3 separate regions of the Homo sapiens genome follow, and regions 1 and 3 are each linked to region 2. The links are contacts of gene promoters, found by promoter capture Hi-C in blood cells and fetal thymus (Javierre and others, 2016). All regions are on one chromosome and are shown on one strand. The core of a region is centred on a gene start or on the middle of the fragment in contact, and the rest is flanking DNA. Distances in the headings are between cores, read along the strand shown.

Region 1 (2,940 bases), core at 173-2,672, 160 kb after region 2:
GAACTCCTGACCTCGTGATCTGCCTGCCTCGGCCTCCCAAGGTGCTGGGATTACAGGCGTGACCCACCGCACCCGGCCTATTAGTCTAATTTTTATAAGCATAATTTTATAGGTCTTGCTTCTTCTCTGTTCCTTTCCCCTTTATACTGTCCTTTGCTGGTACTGTCCTTTGCTCAACTGCTGGAATTACTGGTATGGTAATTCTGAGCAAATTTTAAAAAGACAGTTCTGTCTTCAAGATGTTTTATTGCTTCTTCCTGAAATGTTGTCATTAAAAACTATACAAATCTTGTATAACCACAAGGTGAGTAGCTGGCACTCTCTAAAAGCTAGGAGACACCTAGGAAAACTGAAGTCCCTGTCTAGGGCTAGACTAGCAAACTTGGGAAATCACTGATTCTCTCTGAATTGGGCGAAGCAGTGAGCTGCCTGAGGGTAAGACATGCTTGTGACTTTTTGCAGTATTTTCCTTAGTCCAAGGACCCATTCTCAGCAGTAAGTGTTCTGAAGCTTGTCTGAGTCTGGTCGAAACCAGAATGCCAAGTTATGAGTTACACTGGAAATGTATGAGGGGAACTTCATCCTAGTGGGGAGCTCAGCTCATTATTGCCTGGAGCAAAAAGAGTAGATTGTTCTCATCGGAAATTTCCATCATGCTTTGGCATCCTGTGAAACTGTTCTGTTTTCAAAGGACTGGGAATCCGCAACTAGAATCACAGCAGCTGCTCCCAACCCCATGCCTGAGGTCCTTTCCCCCACCAGTGGCCCCTTGTCTAGATTCCCTCCCTCAAGACACCGTATCGTTTTGATTGCACATCCCCTTTTCACTGCGTTAAAGAATCGTGCGCCAATTGGATCTGGGTCTTACCTTCTCCACTTACTACTAGCTATGTGACTCTGGACAAGTTAACCTGTCTGCATTTCGATTTTTTTGTCTGTTCAAAGGAGATAATAGTACCTACATCACTGGATTCTTGGGATGATTATTTGAGATAATTTAGGTAAAGTGCTTATCCTCTAATGTTGTTGCTATTTAAATATTTATTTTAATAATAATTATACAATGAGATGGGGCTTTGGGAGAATCTAATACAGTTACTCATTTTTTTTTTTTTTTTTGAGATGGAGTTTCACTCTTGTCACCCAGGCTGGAGTGCAATGGGAGTGATTTCAGCTCACTGTAACCTCCACCTCCCAGGTTCAAGCAGTTCTCCTGCCTTAGCCTCCCAAGTAGCTGGGATTACAGGCATGCCCCACCACACCCAGCTAATTTTGTATTTTTAGTAGAGACAGGGTTTCACCATGTTGCCCAGGCTGGTCTCAAACTCCTGACCTCAGGTGATCAGCCTACCTGAGTGCTGGGATTATAGGTGTGAGCCACCACGCCCGGCCTAATTACTTATTTAATGCAGGAATACTTTCTGCAACATACTGTTTCATAACATTTCAGTTAGTAAGTTTGCAAGTTTTCTTCTTATGTCACAGTTTGATTGACTGCTTTCCAACAATTTATCGGAAGTTGAATTGATCTCACTAATAAGCTCTTTCCAAAGTATATTGTGGGACAGGTTGCCTCTCGGGAGGTTTCCTAAAGCCAGCTGACCCAATTTGTCATTTTCTGTTGACTGTAGTTTTCAATAAATATATGCTTAGTTCCTCACCCATAATATCTCAGAATATAATATGTGGATATAACATCTGTAGATCAGTATTTTCTAGTATGCCCCAGCTGATTTAAAATGTCCAGCCAGGGTTGGATACCACTTAGCTCTATCTGCTGTATATAGATTTTTGTTATCTTTAGGCCTATGTATTTTGGGGCTCCCTCCACAATCCTCCCTTAGCCTCAGGTGTGTGCCTTACTCTTTTGACTCTGTTAGGCCATACTACAGTAACAAACCTCAAAATTTCAATGGCTTAGCTCAACAAACATGTATTTCTGGCTTTCAACTATTGCTATTTGGTGGAGGCTTTCCTTTATTCAGCTACAAAGGGATCCAAGCTCCCTTTCTTCTGTGCCAGTTGAATATCAACATATGGCTTCTCAGGTTGCCATGCCAGAGGAAGAAAGAGCTGACACCAGCTCTTAAAAGCCTCCCCTGGAAATGATACATGTCACTTTTGCCTATGGCTCGTAGGCCAGAATTTGTCACATGACTCTATGCATCTTGATGCATGGAGCGCACTGGAAATTTGATGAGGTCCCTATCATGGACCTGTTTCACAATGATCTCTTGTCTTAGATCTTCAAAGCACTTATCATCACCCAGTACTTGATGTATGCCTTCCTTTATTTGTTTATTGCCTATCTCTCCCAAGTAGACGTTAAGCTTTTTGAGATCACAGGCTTTTGTTCACTGCTGTATCTCTAGTGCTTACAGTGATGCCTAGTGAGTAGTGGGGTCTTAATAAACATTTAATAAATAAGTGAATGGCAACTCCATACACAAAGGTGAAGCCACTGAAATCTGTTGTGGGATTTTATTTTATGTCAATGTGCTTTATAGCTTGTGTTCTTTTTCAAAAGCACATTTAAATGTTATTGAGTCCAAAGAGAAGTTAAAGAATAATAGGCTAATTAAGAAGAGAACATTATATGTGGATCTCCTACTATTACTCACGAAGAGCATTTATCTCTCAGTTGTTCATTCCTGGAGTGATCACCCCAGGAAAGGGCAAATGTAGTCAGCAGAGAAGGATGCTTTCTGAGGTTCAGCTGACATAGGCAATAAAAGACTTGAGTTGGCAAAGCAGAAGGTGATATCACTGTGGGCCTGTGTTCAGCCTTTTCTTTGCTGAGCTGAGCCTATCGAATTTGCACAAGACCAGTCTGTTGAAACTTTATAACCCCCATAAAATGGAAAACCTTCTGCAATGAATGCTTCTTCTCATTTTGAATACTGCAGAACCCAATTAAAAACAAGGTTTGTTATTAAGGCT
Region 2 (2,826 bases), core at 299-2,798:
TCTTGTTTTCCCATGGAAAGATGTTTAAAAATCATTATGATTCATGATAACCAATTATTTTGTTGTTTTTGGATGAGATTATTTTTATAGATTTATTGAGTTATAACTGACAACACATTAAATTGTTCATATTTACAGTAAACAATAAGTTTTGACATATGTTTGCACCTGTGAAGCTATAACCACAATCTAGATAGTGAATATTTCCATCATGAGACATAATTTTGAGTATGTCAAAAATGTAAAATTTTGGTGACCATCAGATTTCCAGGGATATCTGGCTTCAGGAGGCCATATTTATTGTTTAGTGAATGATTTTTCTCTAATTTATTGTCATCTTTTGAACATTAGTGCACTAGCAGAACAAAAGATTAGGCAGACTCTGGGCTTTTTCATTTTAGCATTATTGAGGAGCACCTGAATGGTCCTGAAGTTGGCCTTTGAATATACCAATGGACAGGTATGAAATCCTCAAGATGCGCATGGTGGCCAAGAGTCCCACAGTCTCACAGTGTGTGCGGTACCGTCTGCGCCCACCTTTCCTAGAGAAGAAACAGCAGAAAAACCTATTCCTTCACCCTGTGTGTTGTGGTGAATCTTAGTTTTTAAAGGCACATTATTTTATTATATAAACAACTTGGGAACCAATAAAACACAAGACATTTGAAAAGATGGGTCTTCGTATGGGCACAACATATGATAAGGCAAGTCACTTTCCTCCTCTGAGTTTGGGTTTATTTGCTGACTATCTTCCATTTTATCACAGTGAACTGTAAAGAAAAAGATGCAAGCTTCATGGAATGTCCAAATTCTGAAATACAACGGACTGCACAGACAGCTTATGATTAGGATGGCCTTGGCTCAGTGTTTCTGAAAGCAAATGTACAGCTTTTGTCCTTGCCTATTGACACCCTGTTTGCCCTCAGGGCTGGTCAGGGTGAGATCTGTTAAGCTTTTTTTGGAGGCTGTCCTGATAACTCATTTCTTTACTCCACTATTTTCAGGCCCATTCTGGAAACGCAGGATTTAACCGCGGGGTTGCAGCTTCCCTGGTCTCCATCTGCCATCAGAACCCATCTCCACCCCTTCCCCGTTCAGACCTGTGTCCCCTCCACAACTCATACTGGTCACTCTCAGAACTGTGGCCCTGAGTTCTCTAGCTTTCCCTCTTTGCCTCGGGACCCAGGACACCAGTCGGGGCTTAACTTTCTCAGTTGGGAAGGCGACGCTGCTGGTGGCTGCTGCTACTTGCTGGTTCTTCCTTTTTTTTCCTCCCCAAACGAGAGGAAGATTCGAGTGGATTTGGCACATCCCCTAACCGGGGCCTGCCATTTGCAGGTTGGGGGCTGACGTGCCCAGGAGGACCCGGACCAAGCAGGCCATTTTCACCTGCGTAATAACAGGATTGGGAATAGCGAAGCAGCGGCGGCAGCAGCGAGTGGAGTAGGAGGAGGAGCGCAGGCAGCGGCCGCGGCGGGGCCGGAGGAAGAGGAGGGGGGAGAAGGAGGAGCTGAAGCGGGAAGAGCGGCAGGCAGCGGCTCGGCGGAGTTGCAGCAGAGGCGGCGGCGACGCTGAGACACCGCAGCTTCCCTGAGCGCCGAGTCCCTCCGGGGACAGCAGCAGGGAGCGCCCGCGCAGCCACCGAGCCTCTGCCCAGCCAAGCCGCCGTCGCCGCGCCGGGGGACCGCCAGCCATGGCCGCGCCGGGGGATCCGCAGGACGAGCTGCTGCCGCTGGCCGGCCCCGGGTCCCAGTGGCTCAGGCACCGGGGGGAGGGGGAGAACGAAGCGGTGACGCCGAAAGGGGCCACGCCGGCGCCGCAGGCTGGGGAGCCCAGCCCGGGGTTGGGCGCCAGGGCCCGGGAAGCGGCGTCGCGGGAAGCCGGCTCGGGCCCCGCCCGGCAGTCGCCCGTTGCCATGGAAACTGCATCCACAGGTAAGGCGGGCGCCGCTGCCCCTCAAATGGCGTCGGGGACCAGGGCCCCCCAGTCAGTCCCCTTCTGCGCGGCTCTCCTGGGCACCTGCCTCGCGCTTTCTGCCTTGAGCGCCGACCCCACCCCCGCGTCGCCACGGGCGACTGGGAATATTCGCGGGCTGGTAGAAAACAACAATTTTATTTTTCCCAAAGGCTCAGAAAAAGTCAAGATGCTTTTGATCCTTTTATTTCATTATCATGATTATTTCCGCTTTAAAAATTGTTCTCATAGGCAAACAGCAGCATTCTGGCTGCTGGCGAGTCTGGGTACAAGTTTCTCCCTCCTGCCAGGAGGCTCCGAGCTGTAGGGCCCGTTTGACAGGTTGTGGGGATTTTGGGGGGCGTGTTTGCGCGCAGTGTGCGCGCCGGCTACAGGAGATGCTGACAACCGAGCGGCGGGCAGGCCCGCGGCCCCTGGACCCGGCTCTGTCCAGGGCAGAGATGTGGCTGTAACTGCCCCTTACCCTTGCCCTCCACGAATCGCCACCACACCTTACTCCCCCCACATCCCTCCGCCTTTTCTCCCGCAGAAAACAAATCCCAGGGAGTTTGTCCCTAATTCGGGAGGCACAGCTTTGCAAGAGGGTTGGGTGCTGTGGCTGCCCCCGCCCAAAACCTGTATTTCGCCGCTGCCCGGATGGCCCCACCTTGCAGGGAGCATTGAAACTTCAAGTCCTAAGTGCGGCGGGCCTGGCTGTGGGTTGGAGGGCTTGGGTGGTGGTGAGTGGACGTGGTACAGTTTACCAGCAGTCTAAGCGCCCCCCCCCCCCCACCCCGGAAATTGCCCTGGGTTTGGCCATTCTTCGCCTGACGCCCTATTCAAAGTCTGAGCGCGCCAGTGTCCAGCGGGAGC
Region 3 (3,214 bases), core at 628-3,127, 240 kb after region 2:
TGATCCCAAAGATCGTATTTTAAAGTGTATATGCTTCATTAAAATGAAAGATGATAAATCATGTCTACAAGCATAACCTTGAGATTACTGTCCTTAGGCCCATGCTGGTGTGGGGTATGCAAATGTAGATTTTGATCTGGGAAAGAACACCTCTGGCAACTGTAGAAGAATCGGGAAGGCTCCACTTCTCTATGAAAAAGACCCTGTAATGGATAAGGCCATGCCACAAGATGAAGTGGAAAGTTTGTTCCTGCTCCCTCTGAACTCTTCTGTATGCTCCCGTGGTCTCCAGGGCATTCTCTGTCCTCATGCAGTGTCTTGTCTCCTCTAGGGACCCCTTCCAACAGTACCTTCTTTTCCAGACAATGCCCACATTCCAGTCCTTTCTCTTTCCTATTTCTACCTTTTCTTCATCAAAATACATTTATCCCATCCATTCCTTCAGGGTCTTGATGTATGTTCTGATAAAGTAGTTTATGGTAAGATTTAAAAAGCAGGTCACCACCCATTGTTCTGTTCCTTCCTTAGACATTTGCATTTTAACTGTGGACTCCTGACATCCTTAACTACCTGGGCTTGGAAGCCAAAAGTCTTATCTCCCAAATACACACCACCCACCTCCATTGCCCCCCAGTGGTCAATCCCAAAGATGACACTGTTGAGACAGAATGCCCTTTGCTTCCCTGAGTTCTGTTTGAACGTCCCCACAAATGACACCCTTGGATTGTCACTGCATTGACCAATGACTCCACGTACCAGAGTCCAAGGGCTTTGGTCTGGGGTCTACAGGCACCGCATTCTGACATGGATTCCTTCAACCCACAAACAGAGAGGGGTAACCCAAGAAATACACAAGCCCTCTGGGACAGAGCAGTAGGCTTTCTCTCCAGTGATTGTTGCTTGCCAACAAAGGTTTTGGATATCTGTGGAATATTCCAAAAGGAGAGAATCTGGCAATTCTTCAGAAGATTCTGGGCAATTAAAATTCATCGAGTTCAGATTTTTAAGAGTTAGAGGGAGAAGTGAAAGGTAAACGGTGGCAACAATTAGGGAACATTATGCTGCAAGCCTGACATTTATGATGCCGTTGACTTGGTCTTGTCCAGCAGGTTTCTTGGGTTTCTCAGAAATTTCTAGAATATGCACCTCGCATATTCTGGGAGTCAAGAACTCCCAGGAACAGCCCAAGTCCTCCTCCTCTCACCCCCACCGTCAGCCCTTTTTCCCCTCCTCCCAAACCTCCCACCCACTGTCCGCGTCAGCGCCTTCGCGGCCAGAACCGCTTTACCCGTCTCCAGGGTAGCACCCTTGGGCAGCCCAGCCAACGCTGTCGCGTGGAGCGGCGCCCGCATCCCCATGCGCGCAGGCGGCTCCGGGGCCGCGCCGCGCTGATTCGCTGCCGGCCGCGCAGACTGCGGCGCCAGCGACGCTCCCGCCCCTCACCGCGCGCCGCCTGGTGCAGCCTCAGTCTCTCCGCAGCCGCGCGGCCACTGCGAGCCCAGCCGCAGCAGCCGGGCACCAACGCTTGAGTGCACGCTCGGCGCCCCCGAGGAGAGCCACGGCGAGCCCCCAAAGCCCGCACGATGCAGGCCACTGCCGATTCCACCAAGATGGACTGTGTGTGGAGCAACTGGAAAAGTCAGGGTATTCTCTTTATTTCAGTAGTGCATGCCTGAGGCGCACGGGAAACCCGGGACCTGGACTCGTCCATTGTGCATCATTTCACCTGTGGGACCTGTGCATGCTTTATACCCCAGAGCTTTGTGTTGGGGGGTAGTAAACCTCTTATTTCAAGAATCAAAATGGATGGTGCTTGGTTGTTGTTTTTTTCTTTTTTTTTTTAACCCCACCCCCACCCCTTTGTTTTCTTGTTGTAATGCTGGTATTTTAAATAATGCATCAATCGCCTCCTCCGGGAGTTCTTTTGGGATCTGTGCATCATTCAGTACTTGTTTAATGTTTTCTCATCCCCGGAGTTAAAGTGCTTTCTTATTGTTCCATGCATCCCAGTGCATTTATTTCTGCCCAAAGGTTGAAATCTCCTGGCAGAACCATTAACTGAGAGGGCTGGAGTGCATCCTTTTAAGAGGGACACACCCATTTCAGGGTTGTTATTTGTGGTCACACAAAGGAGAGTGGAGATGCAGACTAGCTCTCGAAATCCTGAAAATATGATGGCGTAGCCACATATTAGGATGGTTCACTTTGAAATATTTGGGGTTTTTTTCTGTCATTGGAGTAACCTGTGACTACTATTTATTAATAATAGGTATCTGTGAAATAAATGGAGGGAAAGAACGAAACAGTGCCCGTGGCCCTTGGTATAACAGATTTATTTTGGAATAGTCCATATTAGCACTGGGTGTGGCTACCCTCCAGCCTCGCTTGGATTGCTTTTCAGCCATTTTTATTCAGCCTCACACTTCACACATCCATCTCTCCTTTGTTACATTAAAATTCACCTTGCAGTTACAGAGTATGAGGAGAAAGATAATTTGCAAGAATGAATTGTGTGTAGTAACTTGGGTGTTTGTCGGAGGTAGTGTCTTTTCATATTTAACAAAGATGGTTCTGAAGAAGGCGCGTTTAATTTAACCTGCAGGGTTTTGCAGCATCCCTCAGGAGACCAAGAATACTCTGGAGCAGCAGCTGATTTTGTAAAAACCTGGCATCTTCCCCTTGTAATTCTATATCACAGGAAGGATAGGATGTCCTTTTATCTTTAATGCCTCTGTAGGGTTTTGCTTCGGTATATATTTTAAGAAAAAGTAAACATAAATCTCAGAATTAAAAGCCTGCTTACCTTGCCTCTTGTTTGTTGGATTGGGTGGCAATGACATAAAATACAGTCGTCTACTTCAAATTATGTGAGTGTTGGAAATACCGTTGTCAAAAGTAAATCGATGGAGCTGATAAATTTAAAAGCCAGTAAATAAGAAATGTATGCCAGTTGAGGCACAATGTTTTGAAGAATGATGACAATTACGTGGAAGAACATATGTTCAATATAGAAGGCAGCTGTGAAAATATTTTGTAACATTTTATTCTTGTTCTGTGTTTAGATCCATCCAGTTTATTTGATATACACACCTGACAAACAACTATGGCTTGGTATAAGATCAAATTTAGTTGGACATAAACACTGGATTTTAGACCATGATTATGAGTTTCTAGTATTTTTAACAAAAGTAGATATCCAAAGATGGCAGGTTTT

Evidence for each region. The method cuts DNA at HindIII sites, captures the fragments that hold promoters and counts their contacts. A CHiCAGO score of 5 or more calls a contact.
Region 1: a contact is called between a fragment that was not itself captured here and the fragment with the promoter of RTN1 in region 2, in 1 of 17 cell types (M1 macrophages). The highest score is 5.6, in M1 macrophages.
Region 3: a fragment that was not itself captured here is called in contact with the fragment with the promoter of RTN1 in region 2 in 4 of 17 cell types (M1 macrophages, M2 macrophages, megakaryocytes and 1 more); the score reaches 7.5 in M1 macrophages.

Annotation. Positions count from the first base shown.
Region 1 is chr14:59,711,092-59,714,031 of GRCh38, reverse strand. The region is part of intron 3 of RTN1 (reticulon 1); the gene reads left to right. Among named protein-coding and RNA genes, the nearest start is that of MIR5586, 66 kb to the right of the region's middle. The HindIII fragment of the contact is 1,820 bases long and covers 513-2,332 here.
Region 2 is chr14:59,869,498-59,872,323 of GRCh38, reverse strand. RTN1 (reticulon 1) reads left to right here and starts at 1,548. Exons shown (of 9, transcript NM_021136.3): 1 at 1,548-1,934. The coding sequence starts at 1,694. RefSeq lists a silencer at 1,540-1,639. The HindIII fragment of the contact is 1,996 bases long and covers 955-2,826 here.
Region 3 is chr14:59,628,876-59,632,089 of GRCh38, reverse strand. The region is part of intron 3 of RTN1 (reticulon 1); the gene reads left to right. Among named protein-coding and RNA genes, the nearest start is that of MIR5586, 17 kb to the left of the region's middle. The HindIII fragment of the contact is 3,798 bases long and covers 1-3,214 here.